3 separate regions of the Homo sapiens genome follow, and regions 2 and 3 are each linked to region 1. Evidence: promoter capture Hi-C in 16 types of primary human blood cells and fetal thymus (Javierre and others, 2016). All regions are on one chromosome and are shown on one strand. The core of a region is centred on a gene start or on the middle of the fragment in contact, and the rest is flanking DNA. Distances in the headings are between cores, read along the strand shown. Region 1 holds the start of ARHGAP26-AS1 (ARHGAP26 antisense RNA 1). Region 2 overlaps LINC01844 (long intergenic non-protein coding RNA 1844). Region 3 overlaps ARHGAP26 (Rho GTPase activating protein 26).

What was found. The method cuts DNA at HindIII sites, captures the fragments that hold promoters and counts their contacts. A CHiCAGO score of 5 or more calls a contact.
Region 2: a contact is called between a fragment that was not itself captured here and the fragment with the promoter of ARHGAP26-AS1 in region 1, in 13 of 17 cell types (neutrophils, endothelial precursors, total CD8 T cells and 10 more). The highest score is 9.5, in neutrophils.
Region 3: a contact is called between a fragment that was not itself captured here and the fragment with the promoter of ARHGAP26-AS1 in region 1, in 1 of 17 cell types (neutrophils). The highest score is 5.4, in neutrophils.

Annotation. Positions count from the first base shown.
Region 1 is chr5:142,866,917-142,872,032 of GRCh38, forward strand. ARHGAP26-AS1 (ARHGAP26 antisense RNA 1) reads right to left here and starts at 1,994. Exons shown (of 6, transcript NR_046680.1): 1 at 1,884-1,994; 2 at 941-1,173. All of the region lies in intron 1 of ARHGAP26 (Rho GTPase activating protein 26), which reads left to right. RefSeq lists a silencer at 108-402. The HindIII fragment of the contact is 5,262 bases long and covers 1-3,986 here.
Region 2 is chr5:142,760,829-142,765,944 of GRCh38, forward strand. LINC01844 (long intergenic non-protein coding RNA 1844) reads left to right here. Exons shown (of 4, transcript NR_110558.1): 4 at 1-165. Among named protein-coding and RNA genes, the nearest start is that of ARHGAP26, 7.0 kb to the right of the region's middle. The HindIII fragment of the contact is 3,227 bases long and covers 910-4,136 here.
Region 3 is chr5:142,783,375-142,788,490 of GRCh38, forward strand. All of the region lies in intron 1 of ARHGAP26 (Rho GTPase activating protein 26), which reads left to right. Among named protein-coding and RNA genes, the nearest start is that of ARHGAP26, 16 kb to the left of the region's middle. The HindIII fragment of the contact is 9,850 bases long and covers 1-5,116 here.

The sequences.
Region 1 (5,116 bases), core at 744-3,243:
ACTTCATCCCTATACCCCTCCCACTCCATGTCTCAGGCTTGACTTGCTGTATGAGAGCACAGGCCCTCCGAATGTGTTAGAGCACTTCTTCCAATGTGGAAGCCAGGGCCCCTCTCTCAGTTGCTGAGTGTCCACTGGACATTTCTAGGTGGTTATTTGTTCCTCAGTGGGACAGGATCTGTTCTCAGCACTGCCTTTAAGGCTGGCCCTGTCATTTCTCCTTGAGTCTTAGCTGTTGTTTAAATTAGCTGCTTGGTCAAGGTGTTCTCTGATATAGTTGATTGCCACCTAGTGGCCACAGGTAAGACCGTGTGTCACGGAAACGAGAAAAATGCTATGGAGAATTTTGTTTCATTCTAAGATTTGCACAGGGTGTGTGTGTGTGTGTGTGTGTGTGTGTGTGTGTGTGTGTTTTGTTTGTTTTTGCTAGTACAATGCCAGGAGTCTGGGCTGCAGAATGGTATTTACAAGGGACTGTAACTTGCTTTTCTTATAATGAAGCACATCGAACTAGGTTTAAACTGCTACATACAGACTTGGGGAAATGGGGAGTCGTTGGAAATGCCTCTCTCCAAGCACAGTTTCTGATTGGATATGTTCTCAGTTTTCCCAGATACGGGGAGAAAGAAAAGAGCGATCTCTGGGGACTCTTCCTTAAACCATTTTAACTGCAACCTGGGGCTTGTGCTGGGGCTAAGAGAGGACAGTTGGTTGTGGCCAGCAGTTGGGTTGTATGTAGCTCATTTCTCCAGCTTCCTTGGTATAGGTGAGGTTTTATTTTATGCTCCTGCTGGTGGTAGCTCTCCCTCCAGCTCTGTGGGACTCTTCCTCAATGGACAACATGAAGGGAGGTGGTCACATGCTAATAGGAAGCACATTCCCACATATATATCAGGCTCTAGCCAGACTTACATAAGTTGGAGAGTTTGTCCTAACTTACCTGCTTTTTTTTTCACATGTCAAACATTGAGTTGGGAGGTTCACCTCTGATGAAGGCTAATGGACTTATGGAGTGCCCAACTTCCTCTCTCTTTGTTCTTTCTGCAATACCTGCTCTCAGTCAAGCAGTAGAGTGTTGGGCTTTGGGGATAGAGTGGTGAGCATGAAGGGATATGATCCTCATCCTTATAGAATGTACTAGTTGGGGAGGCATTACTTGAAGAGAAGAATTACCTGAACAAATATAAAATTGCTCTGAAGAAAAGATCTATAGTATAGTACTCAGAGAGTGAGAAATAGGGTTGGGTTTGGCCTGATTAGAGAAGTCAGGGAAGGCTTCCTGGAGGAAAGAACTTTTGGGCCAAGGGCTGCAGGCAGAGGTGGCATGTGGTGGCAGGTAGGAGTTGGGCATGCCCCGGGAACTGGCAGAGGCTGGAGCAGCTGGAGCCCAGAGAGGGGTGTGGGGAGGCCAGACCCTGCAGGGCCTCTCAGGCCTTGGGAGGGACTTTCGTCTTCACCTCCAGAGCTCTGGGAAGCCATCACAGGGCTCACTGCTGGTATTGACACAACTGGGTGGAGAACTGATTTGACGGACAAAAGTGGATGTGGGGAGGCCAGAGAGGAGCAGTTGCAGTTATCTGGGCAAATGGAGGTGTTTTGTTTAGGGGTTGCTGATAGTGATGGGAAGGAGTGGGCAGAATTGAGATGTGCTTAGGAGACTTGGGAATGGACATGGCACATGAGGGAGCCTGCTGTGTGAGAGGATGACATGTACTGGTGACTTGTGCGGCAGGGTGAATGGTGGTGCCCTTCGTTACACTGGGGATGCAGGAAGAGGCCCTCGGCTGGCTCTCTGGGGAGAGGGTGGCAGAGGGTGTTTGAGTAGAGAGAGTTTTGTTTTGAGTGTGTTGAGTTTGACCTAGGAATGGGGGTGTGGGCTAAACCTGAAGTCTCTCTGGGGCTCGTGTCCATCCATGTCTCAGCTGTCTGTCATGGGTCCTCTCTGGAGACTCTCAGGTATTCCACCTGTAAGCCAGCTTGTGTTTCCTTGCCCGCTCACATCGTACAACAGGTTTGGAGGGACACTGTGTCCAGCCCTGTCCGAGGCACTCTTTGTGCATTGTGACATGAAGCCATTCATGACTAGTTCCAGAATTATTCCAAATACAAGGTGATGAGGCACAGAGAGTAACTGGCGTCCAGGAAAGGAAGAGATTAACAAGGCCCGGGGACTTTGGTATTCTTGAACTTTAGGCAGCCATGAGGCCAATCCTGTTGCAAGTTCTAACCTCAATGATGGCCTTTCTGAGCTGTAATCACTTTCTTTTCTTTTCTTTTTCTTTTTCTTTTTTCTTTTTTTTTTTTTTTTGAGACAGCGTCTCACACTGTCGCCTAGGCTGGAGTGCAATGGTGCAACCTCGGCTCACTGCAGCCTCAGCCTCCCGGGTTCACGCGATTCTCCTGCCTCAGCCTCCCTGAGTAGCTGGGATTACAGGTGCACACCAGTACACCCGGCTATTTTATTTTATTTTTTTTTGTATTTTTAGTAGAGATGAGGTTTCACTATGTTGGCCAGACTGGTCTCGAACTCCTGACCTCATGATCCACCCGCCTTGGCCTCCCGGAACTGTAATCACTTTCTAAGTCCAAAGGGAAAGATGTGACTGAGCAGCAAAACATTTCAAGGGTAGTTAATACACAATTTTGGTAACTTTGGAGGTCACAAAGGCAATAGATGCACTGAAAATACAGTAGTAAGGTTACCTGAGTCCATGTTTGTGTGTGCACATGTATGTTAAGTTTTACCCAAGGAGAAAAAGGAAATGGCTTGACTTGTGGTATTACTGGTACAACTTGTATAAAATTAAGGTAGATTCTAATTTTTAAAAAATTATGGTAAACCTTCTGTGTTAGTGAAAGTTGGATCTATTTGGGTTAAATTCTCTTAAATCCGGTGCAGATTAATATCTGCTGGCATCTCCAAGAAAAGAAGGGCACTTCCTCTAGTCCCTGAGTGAGCAGGTGGCTCTGGGAGCAGTCTCTCAAGGCCCAAACTTCTAGCTGCTTCCATATTTCTTAGCCATCTGGTCCCCTCACTCAGAGAAGCACAGCCCTACCTACTCTGGAAAGCAGATACTTGGCCTCCCCAGATGCCGGCAGTTATGACTTCCCTCCACTCTGGCCAGCATTCTGCTTTTCTAGCAACAGATGTTTCTGCAAAGTAAATATTATTGACTCTGCTTGGCTCCTTGCTGTGTCTTGCACTGCCTGCACATGAAACAGCAGGGTTATATGAGGAGGGTGCCACGACGCTTGGCATGCACCCAGCACCAGTGCCAGCCTCTTCTCTTTTCTCTCTCCTCTTATTGGAATGTGTGTGTTAGATTCCTGTGTGCATCAGAGGGAAAGCTCTTGAAATAAATCTTTGGGCTGCTCCATATCCAAGGTGAAAATCTACATAAGATACCACCAATCTTACTGGATTGAAATTGGCAAGAAGCAATGGTTTTTAGGTAGAGAGTTCTCTTTTTAGTGTTGTTTTCAATCTCTCAAGTAACATAGAGGGTTTACCTTAATGGGGTGAAGTGGTATGGTGTTCCCACATACTACAAGGATCTCAGTTCACAGGACTTAAGTCACAGGTCCTCTCCTTAGTGGCCTTGCACTCTTAGGTCAGTCCTTTAACTTCTCCGAGCTCCAAACAGTTATTCATGCTTACCTTTCCTGGTTCCTCTTACTGGAGGATTCATATATGAGGAAAGAATAGCCCAGCTATACCTAGAACTGAGTCTTGTGATGTGCAGAGTGCCTATACAGTGTTTCTCACTGGATCCTCCCTGCCTAACCCACGGGCTGACAGCCTCCGTCAGATGAGATAACTGAGACTTTATGACTAACCCAGGGTTGGTTACATATCTGATCTATGTTGGAGCTGGAACTTGAACCCAGGAGCTGTGGGATTGGGGTGGGGGCAAGGGGTTGGGGTTGATCACCCTGTCACCATCACCCCATAGAATGCAAGTGGAGAAGGGAGGTTCTCCAAAACAAGCTTGAGATGCTGTCCCAAAGTCTGGGGAATGGATTCCAAACAAGTAAAAGGACAGGTGTCCACTTTAGCTGTACTGAAAAATTCCTCTATCAAGCCTGAGGTGAGTTCCTTTTTCAGGTCCATTCATCAGGATTCTCGCTCTACCCAGCTTTCCTCATTGGCTTGAAGCCCAATACTGACTCCATACCAGCAGTCATTACCTAATCGTCTATCGGGGGATCGGCCTGTCCTTCAGCTTCATGGGGTCCTCACTGCTTCTCAGGCTTGCACTGTGGCAGGGTGTGCTCTGTGCCAGTGGACAAGGAAATCAGGTCACCTGCTGGTCATAAGCTAACAGGCCCTGCCCTGGTTCAATGGGTGCCCCTGTGCAGAAGCCTCACAAAGGCCCCGTTGTGCATGACCAGCCACTCCCTGATCCTCCTGGCAGCTGCCCTTGGCAGTGCGGCTTTTCAGGTGTGTGCTGGGAGCTTTCCCGAGCCTGGCTTGCATTTCACCTGTTTCCACTTTGTTGAGATGATTGAGTTTCTCTTGCTTATGGGGGAGGCACAGGATTGTCGGGTGGGTAGAAAGGCAAACCTGTGTTACTCTTAGTGCAGACTTTGTGCGTTCTCATCAGGGAACATTCTGACTAAAATGGGAATGTGTATAACCACACCCACATTTGATGCACACACATTTGGAGGCTCTAACAGAACATTGTCTTCCACTCTAAAATATTATTCTTTCCCTTTTTTCTTGTGTCTACCTGTAGCCTCCTCCTGCCTTCCTGCCCACGGTGTTCTGGCTTTTGGGTGCATCTGTTTCCTTCCTGGCTTGCCTTTTGTGATTTGTGTTCTGAGGGATAGCCTCAGCCTGGGCTGGCCATTTTTGTCAGATGCCTGAGTCCCCTGCCAACATCTTTTGACATTTTGGTAAGGACCATTCTGTGAAAGTGACTGAACGAGGGAGAGATCGGAGACTGTTGGCTCCTGTGTTCCCCTTCTCCACCCCAAGTGCCTTCTTTTGGTGTAGAGCAGAGCGCTTTGGACAAACCGCAGCTATCTCGGGACCGTGTCATCACAGCGTGTGGGAGGGCAGTCCAGGAGCAGGAGCTGCAGCTGCTGTCCATGCAGTAGCTTGAGCCCTGGT
Region 2 (5,116 bases), core at 1,273-3,772, 110 kb before region 1:
AGTCACTCTTTTCTTTCATTTGGCCCTATGGTGGGCAAACTACAGCCTACAGGCCAATTCCAGCCTACCATCTGTTTTTGTATGGTCCATGAACTAAGAATGGTTATCACATTTTAAAATGGTGGGAAAAAAAGACTATTTTGTGACATAAAAATTATATGAAATCCAAATTTCAGTGTCTATAAATTTTGTTGGAATATAGTTACCACACTCATTCTTTTATGCACTGTTTTTGGCTGGTTTTCTGCCTCAACAGCAGAGTTGAGTAGGTGCAACCAAGACTGTATGGCCTACAAAGCCTAAAAGTTTGTTATAGAAAAGTTTGCTGACCAACTCTATTGGTTGCTTAGTATTGCTAGGCACTCTGCAAGTCACAGGGAACACAGCAAACTAGACACATGACTGCCTTGGGCTTAAGAAGAGGTTTCTAAACTTTTGAATAAAAAACAAAACAAACAACAAACAAAGTTGGAGGGACATAAAACTTCCAAATATTAATTTTGCCAGTGGGGTTTGTTTGTTTTTTTGTTTGAGATGGAGTCTTGCTCTGTCACCCAGGCTGGAGTGCAATGGCGCGATCTCGGCTCACTGCAACCTCTGCTTCCTGGGTTCGAGCAATTTTCTTGTCTCAGCTTCCAGAGTAGCTGGGATTACAGGCACCCGCCACCACGCTTGGCTAATTTTTTTGTATTTTTAGCAGAGACGGGTCTGGTCTCGAACTCCCGACCTCAGGTGATTCGCCCAGCTCCTGGGCGTGAGCCCCAGTGGGTATTTCTTAAAAACACAGCTACTATTTTCACTCATCATTTTATTTAAAAAAGGAGTATGTTAATACAAAAAAGTATATTAATGCCAAATTTGTAGGAAGAACATAATCTCAAAAAGCACTCTTTCAAATGGAATATATTAAGCTTCATGAAAAACTTTACATGGTCATTGTTTTTCTCATTTCATTATGGATCAAAGTAAACTTTCTAGACTGGCCTATATCATCAGACCAGCTTTGGGAAGCACAGGAGTAGTTCACATTGTTACTTTTCAGGCAAAACAATCTTTAAAAATGTTTAGTCTTTATAGTGATAGAATGCTTTAGTTTGAGAATTTAACTGCTAGTAGCTTTTTTTTTTTTTTTTTTTTTTGAGATGGAGTCTCGCTCTGTATCCCAAGCTGGAGTGCAGTGGCGCGATCTCGGCTCACTGCAACTTCAGCCTCCCGGGTTCACGCTATTCTCCTGCCTCAGTCTCCCAAGTAGCTGGGACTACAGGCGCCCACCACCACGCCCGGCTAATTTTTTGTATTTTTAGTAGAGATGGGGTTTTACCATGTTAGCCAGGATGGTCTCGATCTCCTGACCTCGTGATCCACCTGCTTCAGCCTCCCAAAGTGTTGGGATTACGGGTGTGAGCCACTGCGCCCGGCCAACAGCTACTAACTTTTTAAAGTCAAAAATAGAAATATAGTGATGGGAAATTCCAGAAAAGAAATACAAAGGAAAATGGGGAAGTAAAGAAATCTGCCAATATTCACTCTCCCCTAACAGACATTGTATCCCATTCGCCCTGTGTTTAGATGGAGGATAATCCATTTTAGCATTGATTTTTCATCCTGGCTTCTCCATAGATGAAAAGAAGATCAGAATACTTTATCTATTGAAATATTGCCCTCTTCACTGCCACTAAGCCACCTTCAACAAACACATGCACTCACTAAAAACCACAGCATCATCTCAAAACCGGAGCCATCAAAAGAAATGTGAATTCCCATGGATGAAAAGCCCATCCATCAATAAGGATTCGAAGTTGGGAAGTGATAGTTTCCCACTTGCTTTAGAAAGTTTGCTAATGCTTCATGACAGACTTCCTATTTTGCAATAACTAAAATGACAGAAGACTAGAAATTATCGCTTTATCTTATATGTCCTTATTCCTGCAGTCTATGTTAGTGTTTATGTCCTAAATGCATTTTTTTTTTTTTTTTTTTGAGGCGGAGTCTCACTCTGTCACCCAGGCTGGAGTGCAGTGGCGTGATTCCGGCTCATTGCAACCTCCGCCTCCCAAGTTCAAGCAATTCTCCTGCCTCAGCCTCCTGAGTAGCTGGGATTACAGGCATGCGCCACCACGCCCAGCTAATTTTGTATTTTTAATAGAGAGGGGATTTCACTATCTTAGCCAGGCTGATCTCAAACTCCCGATCTCAAGTAATCCACCTGCCTCAGCCTCCCAAAGTGCTGGGATTACAGGCGTGAGCCACCACACCCTCCTAAATGCATTTTATAGAACACTATGCATAGGATGTAATGTTTGGGGGAAAAACAGGATTCTGTGCTCAAAGAACTACGAGAAATACTTGGTTAAGCAAAATCTCAAGGATTACTTAACACAGGATTTCTCAGGATCTATAATATGCTATTGTCCATTTAAAGCATATACTCATGTATAAGATTCAGAGGCAAGAAAGAGAGCAAGGCACATAGGAATGCTTGAGTTTAGGTTACTGAAGTGAACTAATTTATTTGGTCATTTTAGCACCAACAATTATAGAAGAATAGGCCAATTATTTTTATTGACCCAGATAATTCTGGGTCTCTGTTGAAATTGTCTTTGATAGTTTTCTGGTTTCATATCAGCTTTTGAACAGTTTATTTTTATCAATAGAGTGTCCTTTTGCTTAAATACTTTTCCTCATTTAATACATATTCCTGCCCTGTAAATGCAGATATCATCTTTTAATGTTTAAGAAATCATCCTTAAAACTATGATTTTCTAATGTGAAAACTGCCTAAGAACCATGGATTAATGCAGCTGCTGAAAATCCAAGAGGAGGTGAAACAATAGGTTTTATAATTAATGCATTATATCAACTAGAGTAGTTTTGACTTTGAGTAACAGGAAACCCCATTAATGTAGCTTAAACAAATAGGTTGTTTTTTCCCTCTTTATGTGATGAGTAGTTGGGAGGTGGGTACTCTGGAGATGGGTATTGTGGCTCGTGGGTGTCACCAAGCTACCTGGCTCCCTCTGTTTTCCCATCCAGCCATCCTTAGCATGTGATATTCATCTTCATGACTGCAAGATGGCTGCTGCTGCTCCATGCATTGCATCCACATTCAAGACAAAAAGAATAGGGAAATGAAGTAAGCAGAAGGTGTGTGTCAGCAGTTGTCTCTTTATTAAAAAAACAACAAGAACAAAAAAACACACAAACCTTTCCAAAGCCCCAGCCAATACACTTCCAAGTGTATCTCAGTGGTCAGAAAAGTGGCACATGGCCACCACCAGCTGTGTGAAAACCTAAGAAATTAAATTCTTTAGTTGGGCACATTGGGGTTCTGCTAGAAACGTAACCTAAGTCTGGAGCTAGACTACCTTTTGAGAATCTCAGCTCTGCCACTCATTAGTTATATGATTTTAGGTGATTCATTTCACTTGCCTCCCCTGTAAAGGGAGATAAGATAATAATAGGGTTGCTAAGTATTAATTGAGTTAATATTTTTAAAGTGTTTAGAACTGTATCTGGTATACAGTAAATGTTATATAAGCACTTTCAATAAATGAGTAAGGTAAAGAGTGAATATTAGGTAGAAAAGTGGCAAGCATGAAATAAATCATGAAAACTGAAAATAAAAGTATTGCTAACATGTAAAACTTGTGTAGAACAAATGCTATGAGTTTCACTAATTTCTTGAGCCAAAGAATGTTAAATAGGTGCTGCTACCTCCCTTAAAGAACTATGAGCCAGTGGCTTTATGAGGATAGATTATTCTTTTTTCTTTAAGGAAACTGAGAATTTTATGTCTGTTTCAATCAACTGCTTCTACATAAATTGTAGGGCCTGTGATTTAAAGCTAAAGCAAATTAGAGGCTTGTATAATTATTGACATATTTGGGACATACCAGCAACAAGCCCTGGAAAACCACATACAGCTCATAAGGAGCGATAATGAAATCGCTCCTCTGTCATTCATATGTGATCTCATTCAAGTTTTAGGTGTTAGGCTATTATTATTTAACAATGTTTTTAGACATATAAAATGTATTTCTATAGATATTTTATATGGATGTAGTTATTTAAGCCAGATAGATTTGAATTCTAAGTCTAGCTCTATCAGTAACTACATTAGGCATCTTACTTCTCTAAGCTTTAGTTTCCTTACCTGTAAAATGGGGATGGTAGCAGCATCTAATTCTCAGGATTGTAGTAAACATTAAATAAAGAAATGTAATAGAGTGCTTAGCACAGATCCCGTTACATAGCAAAAGCTTAATAAATATCAGCATCACTGCCATCATCATTATTTTATTATTATTATTATTTTTGAGACAGAGTCTCATTTTGTTGCCCAGGCTGGAGTGCAGTGGTGCGATATTGGCTCACTGCAACCTCTGCCTCCCAGGTTCAAGCGATTCTCCTGCCTCAGCCTTCCGAGTAGCTGGGATTACAGACGCGTGCCACTACGCCCAGACAATTTTTTGTATTTTTAGTAGAGACGGGTTTTCACCATGTTAGCCAGGATAGTCTCGATCTCCTGACCTCGTGATCCACCCTCCTTGGCCTCCCACAGTGCTGGGATTACAAGCATGAGCCACCGCGCCAGGCCCATCATCATTATTTTTTAAAATCAACCTTTAATGAGGTTTACACACAATAAAACGCACCCATGAGTTTTGACAAATGCAATGCCTGTGTAACTACCACCCTAACTGAGATATAGAACATTTACATCAACCTTAAATTGTTATTTTAAAATAGGAAAACTGGTATCTTGTCTAGTAATAATAAAAAGGAGAAGTCACTGTGCAGCACAAAATATGGCATCAACCATAAAAAAGCATGAATAAGTGCTAACTAGAATTATGGGGCCATGAGAATGTGGCAGGAGGCGCATTCATTGTGAGGGAGTTGGGGACAGGTCAAATGCACTATACATTATTGCTTCTGCCTGTGCAGCAGTGATCCCCGTTTTCCCTGTTAAATGCGCTGTGCTTGTCCTTTAGTGGAACAACTTCACCCCAGTACTTTACGTTTTTGGAGTGGGGCTGTTTTATCCTTGACTCCAGTCTTGTCATTTCTATTGGAATTCTTAGAAAACTCTCTTCCTGCTAATATTGCTGGGCGT
Region 3 (5,116 bases), core at 1,131-3,630, 83 kb before region 1:
TGCTCCTGGGCAATCACAGGGAAACTGTATTCCCACAGTGAGTCTTGGGTGCTCTTGTCAGGGTTAAAGTCATTTGGGGTCAGAGCCTGTAATTATGTTTCACATTTTTTTTTTCTTTAAAAACATTCAGGAAGCATAATGAGCTGGTTGAGCTGTTGCACAGCAAGGGGAACTCAGGATCTGGGGAGAGGAGGAGAGAGACTGGGTGATGGCTCTGGAGCTGAGATGCCTTAAACCCAGAGAGAGCTGATCTCCCCCTTCTACCTGGAGGTGCCCCTGGGCAACTCATTTCTGGCAAATACTGCTGTCTCTGTTCTGATCTCAGCTGGTTCTCACCCTTTTAAAGCAGGGCTGGATGACTGGGCAGACCACAGCTGCTGCTGGTGTGATCCCAGGGTGTCACCACCAGGAAATTAGTGCTGCTTTCACTCTGCTATTTGCTTCTTAAGAAAATCTGTGGGTTGCTCTTCCAAAAATAAGGTTTTCTTGCATTTGTATCTGACTAGTGCACTGAAATGTTTGACACAGACTTTACCGTGGGCGACTTACCCAGCAGATCATCAGCCACACCACCCCTGCTGTGGACAATATGTCATTGTGGAGGCCAGGGCAGGCACTGGAGGCGAGTGCCTCAGCATCCGTAGGCTTCGGCATCCAGATGCTCCTGCTGCATCTGTGTCTGCTGGCCAGGACTTGCCACAATCTGCCGGCCTTCTGACCGAAGCTGCCCAGAGCTCAGTGTGCAAGGTCAGCAGACTACCATGCTGCCAGCTCTGTTTAGAGCAGCAAGATGGGTTTCTCTCTGGAAAGAAAGCCTGTTTCCTCTTACGTAGCCAGCATGCTTGTAATCGGTTCCCCAGCAGGGAAGCTCTGCTCCATTGCATAGGAAATTGGAGTGGAACTGATAGCTTTTGGCCTCTGTGTCTTTTGGGATATAACTTTGGCTTGCTTCTCATCTCCCCCACCTCTCCTGGCCAGCTTAACTTCATACCATACTGCAAGGAAAAGACACAGCCCAGTGGGGCTTGCTTGGGATTTTGTGCTTGAAACCGTACGTAATTTGTACATGAAGATGATCACCAGTTGAAGATAACTTAAATTTTGCTTGTTTTCCTAAGGAGTCTAATCCTTACTGCCCCTAAACTGAGTCTCTTTAAGAAAGACAATTTGTTTTTTGATGGTTAAGCAAGAAACTTGTAAAATGTCAAACTGGAGAAGGATGACTCATATCTCTTAATGTGCCGTCTCAATCAGCCATATTACTGAGCTCCCCAAATGGGCAGCATGGGGGTAGGCGATGGTAGGCAGAGACCATGGACGATGTTTTTTAAAAACAGCTTTTTTGAGATACAATTCACACGACACAATTTACCCATTTGCAGCATACAATTCAATGGCTTTTAGTATATGCACAGGATTTTGCATTCATCTTCACGATTAATATTAGCATATTTTCATCATTCCCCCAAAGCAATCCTGTAGTCCTTAGCTAATATCTGCCATTCTTTCCATCCCTACCTCTCATCCCTAGGCAACCACTTCCTTAGGATTTTTTTTTTTTTTTTTTTTTGAGATGGAGTCTTGCTCTGTTGTCCAGGCTGGAGTGCAGTGGCGCGATCTCGGCTCACTGCAAGCTCCGCCTCCCTCCTGAGTTCATGCCATTCTCTTGCCTCAGCCTCCCAAGTAGCTGGGTCTACAGGCGCCCACCACCATGCCCGGCTAATTTTTTGTATTTTTAGTAGAGACAGGGTTTCACTGTGTTAGCCAGGATGGTGTCGATCTCCTGATCTCGTGATCCGCCCACCTCGGCCTCCCAAAGTGCCGGGATTCCTTAGGATTTTTAACTCATGTCTCCAAGTGTGGCACTCTCCTATCTGCTTCGTCTCTTGATCTTGTGAAGCCACATACCCTTTTCCTTCAGTGCATCCAAACAATTTGCAGCTCCTCAGAATGCTGCAGTTCCAACACCAGGATGTTCCGACCTGGCACTGTTCTTGCTCTTCACACATTCTTGTCCTCTGACAGATTTACTAGTGCAACCTGACTAATGCACACTCACTGCCGAGGGGGCCTTTAGGCCTCTGGTTTCACACTTCTTTTGTCTTGTCTGTCCCTTGGTGTTGATCTTGCTTTAGAGAGAGTAATTGGAACGAGAGCGTGTTATTTCTGCTTGAGAATGGGTACCCCAAATCCAGTAGGTAGATGCATTCCTTCATTTCTACAGAGGAAAAAAATTGCCAGTACTATCCTGATTTGGCTGGTTGCACTTCAGGGTTTCAGCTTTAACCATTTTAGGGACTATTGACAAAAGTAAACTTTTTATATGCTGAAATGGTGATGTTTGGGGGTGTCAGTGGTCTTAACAGGAAAGCCCTTCTTCTTCACTAGCAACCTTGCATTGTTCTAGGAAATTCCAGTCCAAATGTAGAAAGCGTGTTTTCTACCATCTGTATGTTTTCTCTTTCTCTCATTTGCTTTCCTCCCTTCTTTTTCTTTCCCTTCACCTTTCCCCACACACCCCCATCATTTGTTCACTGTGTCTGGCCTTCTACCATCTCTCTCTTGCCTTGCCAAAGGACCAGGGAGGTGACTGATCCCTGGTATTTTTTTTTTTTTTTAAATAGACAGAGTCTTGTCTTGTCACCCAGTGTGGTAGTACAGTCATAGCTCACTGTACCCTCAGACTTCTGGGCACAAGCAATCCTCCCACCTCAGCCTCCCAAGTAGCCAGAACTACTGGCTTTTGCCACTATGCCTGGCTAATTAAAAAACATTTTTTTTTTTTTTTGTAGCGATGGGGGTCTCAGTGTGTTGCCCAGCTGGTCTAGAACTCCTGGCCTCAAGTGATCCTCCTGCCTTGGCCTCCCAAAGTGCTGGGATTACAGGTGTAAGCCATGGTGTTTGGCCCTAATACATTTTTTAAAAAGTTAATTTCTTTAAGAGTTGGGGTCTTCCTTTATCACCCAGGCTGGAATGCAGTGGTGTGATCATAGCTCACTGCAGCCTCGGACTCCTGGACTCAAGTGTTCCTCCCACCTCATTTTCCTGAGTAGCTGGGACTAGAGGAGCATGCTACCATGCTCAGCTAAGTTTAAAAAAGTGTTTTTAGAGATAGGATCTTGCTGTGTTGCTCAGGCTGGTCTCAAATTCCTGGCCTCAAATGATCTTCCCACCTTAGCCTCCTGAGTAGCTGGGATTCATCCCTGATATCTCAGTTATGGAGAAAACAAAGCCTTTGGTAAATGGAAATGACGTGAAACAGATTTCTGGAGTTCTAGAATTTTTTTTTTTTTTTTTTTTTTTTTGAGATGGAGTCTTGCTCTATGCAGTGGCATGATCTTGGCTCACTGCAACCTCCGCCTCCCGGGCTGAAGCAATTCTCCTGCCTCAGCCTCCCGAGTAGCTGGGATTATAGGCACATGCTACCACAGCCGGCTAATTTTTGTATTTTTAGTAGAGACGGGGTTTCACCATGTTGGCCAGGCTGGTCTTGAACTCCTGACCTCGTGATCTGCCCGCCTTGGCCTCCCAAAGTGCTGAGATTACAGGCATGAGCCACTGCGTCCGGCTTGGATTTCTATAATTATAGCTAAAATGACTCTCAGCTTTGAGGTGACTAAGACATTCTGGTTCTAGAGAACTCTTAGTCGGACTGTGAGTGGTCTCATCTAGGTGAACAGCACTGTCTAGGGCTCCCTTTCCTGTTATACTTCCTGTGTTACATTTCAGAGTGAGAGGATGTGCTCAGAACCAGGGTGGGCACAGAACTTCTGGCTCACTGCTTAGCCGTTCTGATGGGTAACATTTAGTGGCTTATTTTCTACCTCTCTAATGGGACCTGATGACAGTGTCAAGTGTCTCATTTTTATCATTGGGGTGGGAGAGTGCCATTAAAATGGTCTTTAACAAAGTAGGTCAATAATTTATATTTCAAGAAGGGAAATTTGGGGACATGGAATGAGAGCATGTTATTTGGGTTAGTTGAACAGCTCCAGAAATAATTACGTATTTTTAATGCCTATTAGGGACCTAGAAACCTATTTGGGGAGGTCAGGAAACTGGGTATGAGATCTGAGTCTTTGCAGGTGCTCGATCTAGAATCTCCAGGGAGAATGTATTTTGGACATAAACAATGAGACGTGGATAAGATGGATGGCTTACATCTCCCTCCCTTGGACAGCCAAGCCCACAGCTGACAAAGCCACTGACAAAGCCAGCAACACCAAAGGAGCAGGCTGACCCTTCTGCCTTCTCCTGACTTTCTGTCTACATAGGTTAGTCATTAAAAGGAAAAAAAGCAATCCAAAAACCTGTATTTTTTCTTAGATAACATGATTATATAGACAATACATGTTCATTAGAGAAAATTTAGAAATTACAGATGGATAAAATAAAATGCAAATTATGCCTATAGTACTGATTAGAGATTGTCATTTTGGTTTTATAGTCTTTTCAACAGTTCATGATCATCCCTATGTATCATTAACTACTCTCTAAGATGGTTTTTGGTGGCTACATAATACTCCAAGTATATTGTGTGAAGACTTTTTGAACTGGTGACCTATTTTTGGATGGTTAGGTTGTATCTCTCTCTCTTTTGTCCATGATTATTAACCAATTCTTTTTTTTTTTTTTTTAAGATGGAGTCTTACTCTATTGCCCAGGCTGGAGTACAGTGGCATGTGGCATGATCTCGGCTCACTGCAACCTCTGCCTTCCAGGTTGAAGTGATTCTCGTGCCTCAGCCTCCCCAGTAGCTAGGATTACAGGCACGTGCCACCATGCCCAGCTTATTTTTGTATTTTTAGTAGAGATGGGGTTTCACCATGTTGGCCAGGCTGGTCTCGGACTCCTGACCTCAAGTGATCCACCCACCTTGGCCTCCCAAAGTGCTGGGATTACAGGCACGAGACACCGCGCCCGGCCAATTAATCAGTTCTTTTAAAACCAGCTCCCATTTCTCTGCTTGCTTCCCGACTCCCACCCCATTTTTTTGTTGCTGGTTTAGCAGAACCTTGGGGACAAAGAGAAGATACATTACCAGAGTGTCACAGAATAACAAATTTCATATGTTGAAAGCATGATTTAAATTTATTTGAACCATACTAATAGTACA